2 separate regions of the Homo sapiens genome follow, and region 1 is linked to region 2. Evidence: promoter capture Hi-C in human tissues and cell types (Jung and others, 2019). All regions are on one chromosome and are shown on one strand. Each heading gives the region's core, a stretch centred on a gene start or on the middle of the fragment in contact. The rest is flanking DNA. Distances are from core to core; before and after follow the strand shown.

Region 1 (2,994 bases), core at 450-2,949, 130 kb before region 2:
ATTGCTTCCTTGGTTCCACACTTCCTTAGTGCCCATTAGGGAAGAGGGTCCCAAAGGAACTGAAGACTTTTATTCACTCTTGAGGGCTTGATTGCTGCTACTTCATTCAGGGGCCAGGGGCACTGAGATTTTCTGGCCTGGGTGGCTGAGTCTGAAAAAGAGGAACATTCGGCTTTTCTAGCCCCAGAGCCACAGATGATCCACAGCACCTAAAAGCAAAGGAAACAGGGCTGGGTGGACGTAGGGCCTGGTTTTCAGCCCAGGACAGCCACATTTCCCTTCAGTCTGTGAGTGCCTTTTCTCTGGAGTGCTCCCCTCTCATCTTCTGATGAGTTCTACGCACTAGAGGAAGGTGGGAAGAACGTGGGAATTGGCTCTGTTTGACTTTGGGCTAAATCTGACTTAGTTGACTCCATGGTATTTTATTGAGCTATTACCTGATTAATGAAGCTTAACCTTAGAAATTTTAGGAAATGAATAAGATGTAAAGTGATAATGGGGAATTATAAAGCTAATTCTAGGAAAAATGATGATTATTTGCAGTCAAGTCACAGATATAATTGCTATTGGACACTAAACTCTATTAAAAGAAATGGCTGTTTTTAATATCAGTAATTATCTATTGCTTTTTCCTACCTACATATCATCTTTTCTATTCTTTTATTTCTTTATTTTTATTTAAGTTATTTTTGGGACAGGGTCTCACTCTGTCACCCAGGCTGGAGTGCAGTGGCATGATTTTGGCTCACTGCAATCTCTGCCTTTTCAGCTTAAAGGATCTCCCCACCTCAGCCTCCCAAGTAGCTGGGACTACAGACATACACCACCACACTCAGCTAGTTTTTTCTTTTTCTTTTCCTTTTTTTTTAAATTTTTGAAGAGACAAGGCGTCACTGTATTGCCTAGGCTAGTCTCAAATCCCTGGGCTCAAGTGATCCTGCCACCTTGGCCTCCCAAGCTGCTGGGATTACAGGTGTGAGCCGCCATGCCCAGGCTTCCTTTCTGTTTTACACCCATTAGACAATTCTCAGTTTTCAGTTACTCTAGCTGCTGATTGAGAAAGCTGCCTCCCGGATCAGTCACATGAATGGGTAATCTCAGAACTGCTACAAGTCAACTTAGAGAAATGCTGTGGAATAAGGCACACATTAAATAATTTGATGAATAAATTTTTTAACAAAGATGGGTAGGAGCCAAAATTATATGGGTACTTTGCAGACATCAATGCATTAATGTACACAGGAACCATAATATATTATTTTACTATTTATATATATTCAGAAAAGATTTAAAGAGTTTTTTTCAAGGTCATCTGATGTCAGAGTGGGCAGCGTGTTTAGTATGTAAACTCAGATACTTCCAGTTGTAAAGTTTATTCTACACCTTCTCTTCTATATCAACTCTAGTGTTGTCTCTTCATTTTACTTATGAGGAAACAGATGAAAAATAGATTAATAACTTACCCAAATGTCACTCAATAATTAATGACAGGATTGAACTGAGTCTTATTTAGAAGTTCTCCACTCTATATACTTATTATCAGTTTGCGATAGGCTCTATAAAGAGTTTTTTGCAGGAAAAACTCATCTCAGTGAGGCCATTGTTTGATGTTCCAGGACTAATTTGACATGAAGATAAAGAATCACACTCCAGTAACTGAGGTCCCCCTGATGGGAATCCCTCATACAAAGGGGATGGAAAATGTGCTTTTTGTCTTATTTCTGGCCTTCTACCTCTTCACCTTGCTGGGGAACCTACTCATTCTTCTGGCCGTCCTCACTTTCTCCAACCTCCACACCCCCATGTATTTCTTCCTGGGAAACCTGTCTGTGTTTGACATATTTTTCCCTTCAGTGAGTTCCCCCAAAATGATGCTCTGCTTAGTGGGACAAAGCTGCACCATCTCTTTCCAGGGTTGTGCCTCCCAGCTCTTCTTTCACCATTTCCTGGGTTGCACCGAGTGTTTCCTGTACACTGTGATGGCCTATGACCGATTTGCAGCCATCTGCCACCCTTTGCCATACACGGTCATCATGAAACGCAGGGTGTGTGCCCTCCTGACGCTAGGCACCTGGACGGGGAGCTGTCTGCATGCATCTGTCCTCACACTCCTCATCTTTAAGTTATCCTACTGTGGCCCCAATGAAGTGGACAATTTTTTTCTGTGATATTCCGGTGGTGCTGCCCCTGGCCTGCGCAGACACCTCTCTAGCACGGACAGTGAGTTTCATCAACGTAGGTGTTGTTGCGCTCATGTGTTTTCTTCTTATCCTCACCTCTTATGCTTGCATTGTTATCTCTATACTGAAAATCAGTTCCTCAGAAGGTAGGCGCAGAGCCTTCTCAACCTGCAGTGCCCATCTGACGTCCATCCTGCTCTTCTATGGACCAATAGTCCTCATTTATCTCCGACCTGCCTCCAGCCCTTGGCTGGACTCTGTGGTTCAGGTGTTGAATAATATTGTTATCCCTTCCCTGAATCCTTTGATATATACTTTGAGAAACAAAGGTGTAAAGCTGGCACTGAGAAAGGTGCTCATTCAAGGAGTACATAATTGTGGAAGGTAAGCTTTATATCCTGGTCTGTCTTTACAGCTTTGTCTTGAATTTATCTGGGGGCAATTAGCTCCTATATTTTGTTTGATGACTGAGTACCAGGCGCTATTTACAAATACTGATACATGTAATGATTATAATAATCATATGAAGTAGATAATACTATTATCTCGATTTACGAGGGAAAATTAAGGCACTGAGAGGCTGAGATCTTTCTGCAGTGTCATGGAGTTAAAAACTTGCTGGGCGAAAATGTGACCCAAAGCGTCTTAACCATGTGCTAATGCTGCTTCTGTAGTGTCTAAATGGTAACATAAATACTTCTCTCAGGAGCTTCTTTTCGGTTTACACAGAATATTCTTCAATTTGCCAGCAAATCTAGTACATTAAATTTGCTCCATTGATTTCTATAACTTTTTTTGAGTCTATATTTTGATG
Region 2 (2,972 bases), core at 136-2,635:
AGCCAAATTTAGCATTGCTGACCTCTTTTCTTTTGTTTTCTCTACTTTATTATTTCAGGTTTTTACATATTTTTCAGTTCTTTGACAACTCTGTAACTGTTACGTTACATGAAAGAGGAATAATTTCCAGATTACAAATGTCTGGAATCTCAAAGGGCAAGGTTCTTGACTCCTTTCACAGAAGAGAAGGTCAAGATTAAGGAAATTTGTCTTATTCTTGGTTGTATAGGTTATTAATTAATGTTTGTTGAATAATACTTTGATATAATTCTGGGAATATCATCAGGAGAACTATTTCTGGTTCAGGAAATTCAGCTGTGCCAATTGACAAATGTTTGTTGGAGTCTAGGAAAAGAAATTCTATTTCTATATCAAAATATTAGAAACCATAGTCTGAAAAGTAGAAGAACTATGTTAGTTCACTAGGGCTGCCATAACAAAACAGAATATACTAGGTGACACAAACAACAGGAATTTTTTTTCTCGCAGTTCTGCAGATTGTAAAATTCAAGATCAAGGTTGCACAGGTTTTGCAGCAGGGTTTGGTTTCTGGGGCTTAGAGATGGGGCTGTCTTCTTGCTGTGTTCTCACATGGAGAGATAAAGGGAGAGAAAAAGACAGGCAGAGAGAGAGAGAGAAAGAGACAGAGAGAGAGATCTGATGTCTCTCCTTTTACAAAGATACCAGTTCTATTGCATCAGGGCTTCATCCTTATGGTCTCATTTAACTTTATTCACCTTCTTAAAGACCCTACTTCCAATACAGTTACGTGGATTGGGTGTGTTAAGAGTTTCAACACGAATTTTTGAAGGAACACAATTCAGTTCATGGCAAGAACTATGAAGAAACTGAGATTAAAATATTTAAAATTGGATATTTTTAAAAGTCTGAGATATATGGTTGTTAGGTTATTTCTCATTCCGATAATGTATCCTGAAACTGGGTAACTGGTTTCTACATATGTCCTAGGATTGGGCTATACCATTCACCTTTTTTCTCCTTTCCCAGGGTCAATCTTAGAGGTAGAAAATAGAGATTTGGCTCCCCCTTGTTCCTATCCAGCACTGTCACAGTGGGAAACATCACCATATTCTATTTCAACTAGACAGTTTACTCACTTCTAATTACTCCCTTTGCTCAACAACCTCCTTGAATAGGACTCATTCAGGAATGGGGTCCCAAAGGCTCCAAAGATATTTAAATTTCCACGTAGGAGAAAGCAATGTAGATATCAGTGTCTTGGAAGATGTCTGTGCAGAAGACAGAGACGCACGCTGCTGCATGTCATTTAGTCAGAGTTTATTTGGCTAAGAAGAAAGCATTCCAGATCATGGGTGGAGATCCCTAACCTCTAATATGCCAAAGGAAAATTTGGACTAAAAATCCTATACAAACAGATGATTAAATGATCATACTTTCTCTTTGTAAGTTACATAAGTGCCATCTTTGCCTCTTTCTCTCTCTTTCTTTCTCTCTCTCTTTCTCTCTCTCTTTCTCTCTCTTTCTCTTTCTTTCTCTTTTTTTCTCTTTCTTTTTTTTTCTTTCTTTCCCCTTCCTTCCTTCCCTCCCTCCCTCCCTGCCTCCTTCCCTCCTTCCCTCCTTCCCTCCCTCCCTCCCTCCCTGAGTCTCACTCTGTTGGCCAGGCTGAAGTGCAGTGGCACGATCTCAGCTCACTGCAACCTCCACCTCCCGGGTTCAAGCAATTCTCCTGCCTTAGTCTCCAGAGTAGCTGAAATTATAGGGGCCCTCACCTCTTTTTTCACTCCTCTTTTATGCTTTGTGTATCCAATGGAGAGGAAAATTTGGAGTCCTCAGTTTACAAAGTATTCTCAGAATTCAGAATGAACAGAGAGCATGGATCTACTGGCCAGAAGAATAGATCTTATTTGCTTGGTTTATCTTTGAGCCCATTGTGCTGGCCCATCAGCTCACAAACCCCATTCTTGTTATTTCACTTTACAATCAGGAATTTGGACTTGATTTTATATTATTAAAGTAACAGAAACTCTAAATGAGCCCATATGTGGATATCTTCATTTGATTCTTTCTTTGATGTATGACAGCCAGGACATTTTTGGAAGCAGTATAGATTATATGTAGCACTTGTCTTGGGTCTGATTGCTTTTTGGAATGTAGTGTAGAGCTTCTTCTGGAGTGCAGGTGACATGATTGTAAACAGAGAAATTCCAAATATACAGGAAATGGGCAAAAGAGAAACAGGTAGATGATCAAGTTGCTTTAGAAGACTGTGAGGAGAAATTACTATCTGATAGTACCACACAGATCCTTGCACAAGAGGAATGATATCCAATTCTTGCCAGGCATTGAGTGAGTTATCTTATTTCCTTCATCAAACGTTTATTGAAAAAGGCACTGTTCTTTGCACTGAGAGTATAATCGTAAACACAAAAAATATTTACTCTCCTAGATGTTATATTTGTGTGTGTGTGGGGAGGTAGCTGGATATATATTGATTTTCCATTGCTTACTAAGGAGGAGGAGGAACAACATTTTAAGAGCCTGGTGATGTCCAAATGAAAAACATGGTTAATACCGGGGTAAGATTTGACAAGGCCAGTAATGCCGTGATCTATCACAGATGGATCCATCCAGACCCGGGGGAAAGACTGATGTTTAAAAAGAAAAAAAAAGAATGTAGATGCCTAGTTCTACCAAGAACTAGCTGCCTTAATTTAGGAGAGTCACCTAGCCTTCCTACTGCTCAAATGTAATCTTTTCTGTAGACCTCCTCAAAAAGTGACTGCCAGGATTAGATGAACGGAGATCATGTTGTATAAGTGTTTTGAACTGCAAAGCAGGGATCAACCTTTATGATTCCCTTAAAAAACGTAGACATAAAATCTAACGTTGTTGCTAATAATGGCTTACAAATATGATGATTCCCGAATTGTGGTTCATATCTCCAGTGATATAAAAAAGCCCTCAAATAATCCTGACATTTCACATCCTTC

Evidence for each region. The method cuts DNA at HindIII sites, captures the fragments that hold promoters and counts their contacts. A contact is called where the count stands out against the background at its distance.
Region 1: a fragment that was not itself captured here is called in contact with the fragment with the promoter of OR10D3 in region 2 in 1 of the 25 tissues and cell types used here (pancreas).

The regions. Positions count from the first base shown.
Region 1 is chr11:124,053,165-124,056,158 of GRCh38, forward strand. It overlaps the pseudogene OR10D5P. Among named protein-coding and RNA genes, the nearest start is that of OR10G7, 13 kb to the left of the region's middle. The HindIII fragment of the contact is 4,298 bases long and covers 1-2,994 here.
Region 2 is chr11:124,181,960-124,184,931 of GRCh38, forward strand. It overlaps OR10D3 (olfactory receptor family 10 subfamily D member 3), which reads left to right and starts at 1,386. Exons shown (of 2, transcript NM_001355213.3): 1 at 1,386-1,424. The HindIII fragment of the contact is 12,854 bases long and covers 1-2,972 here.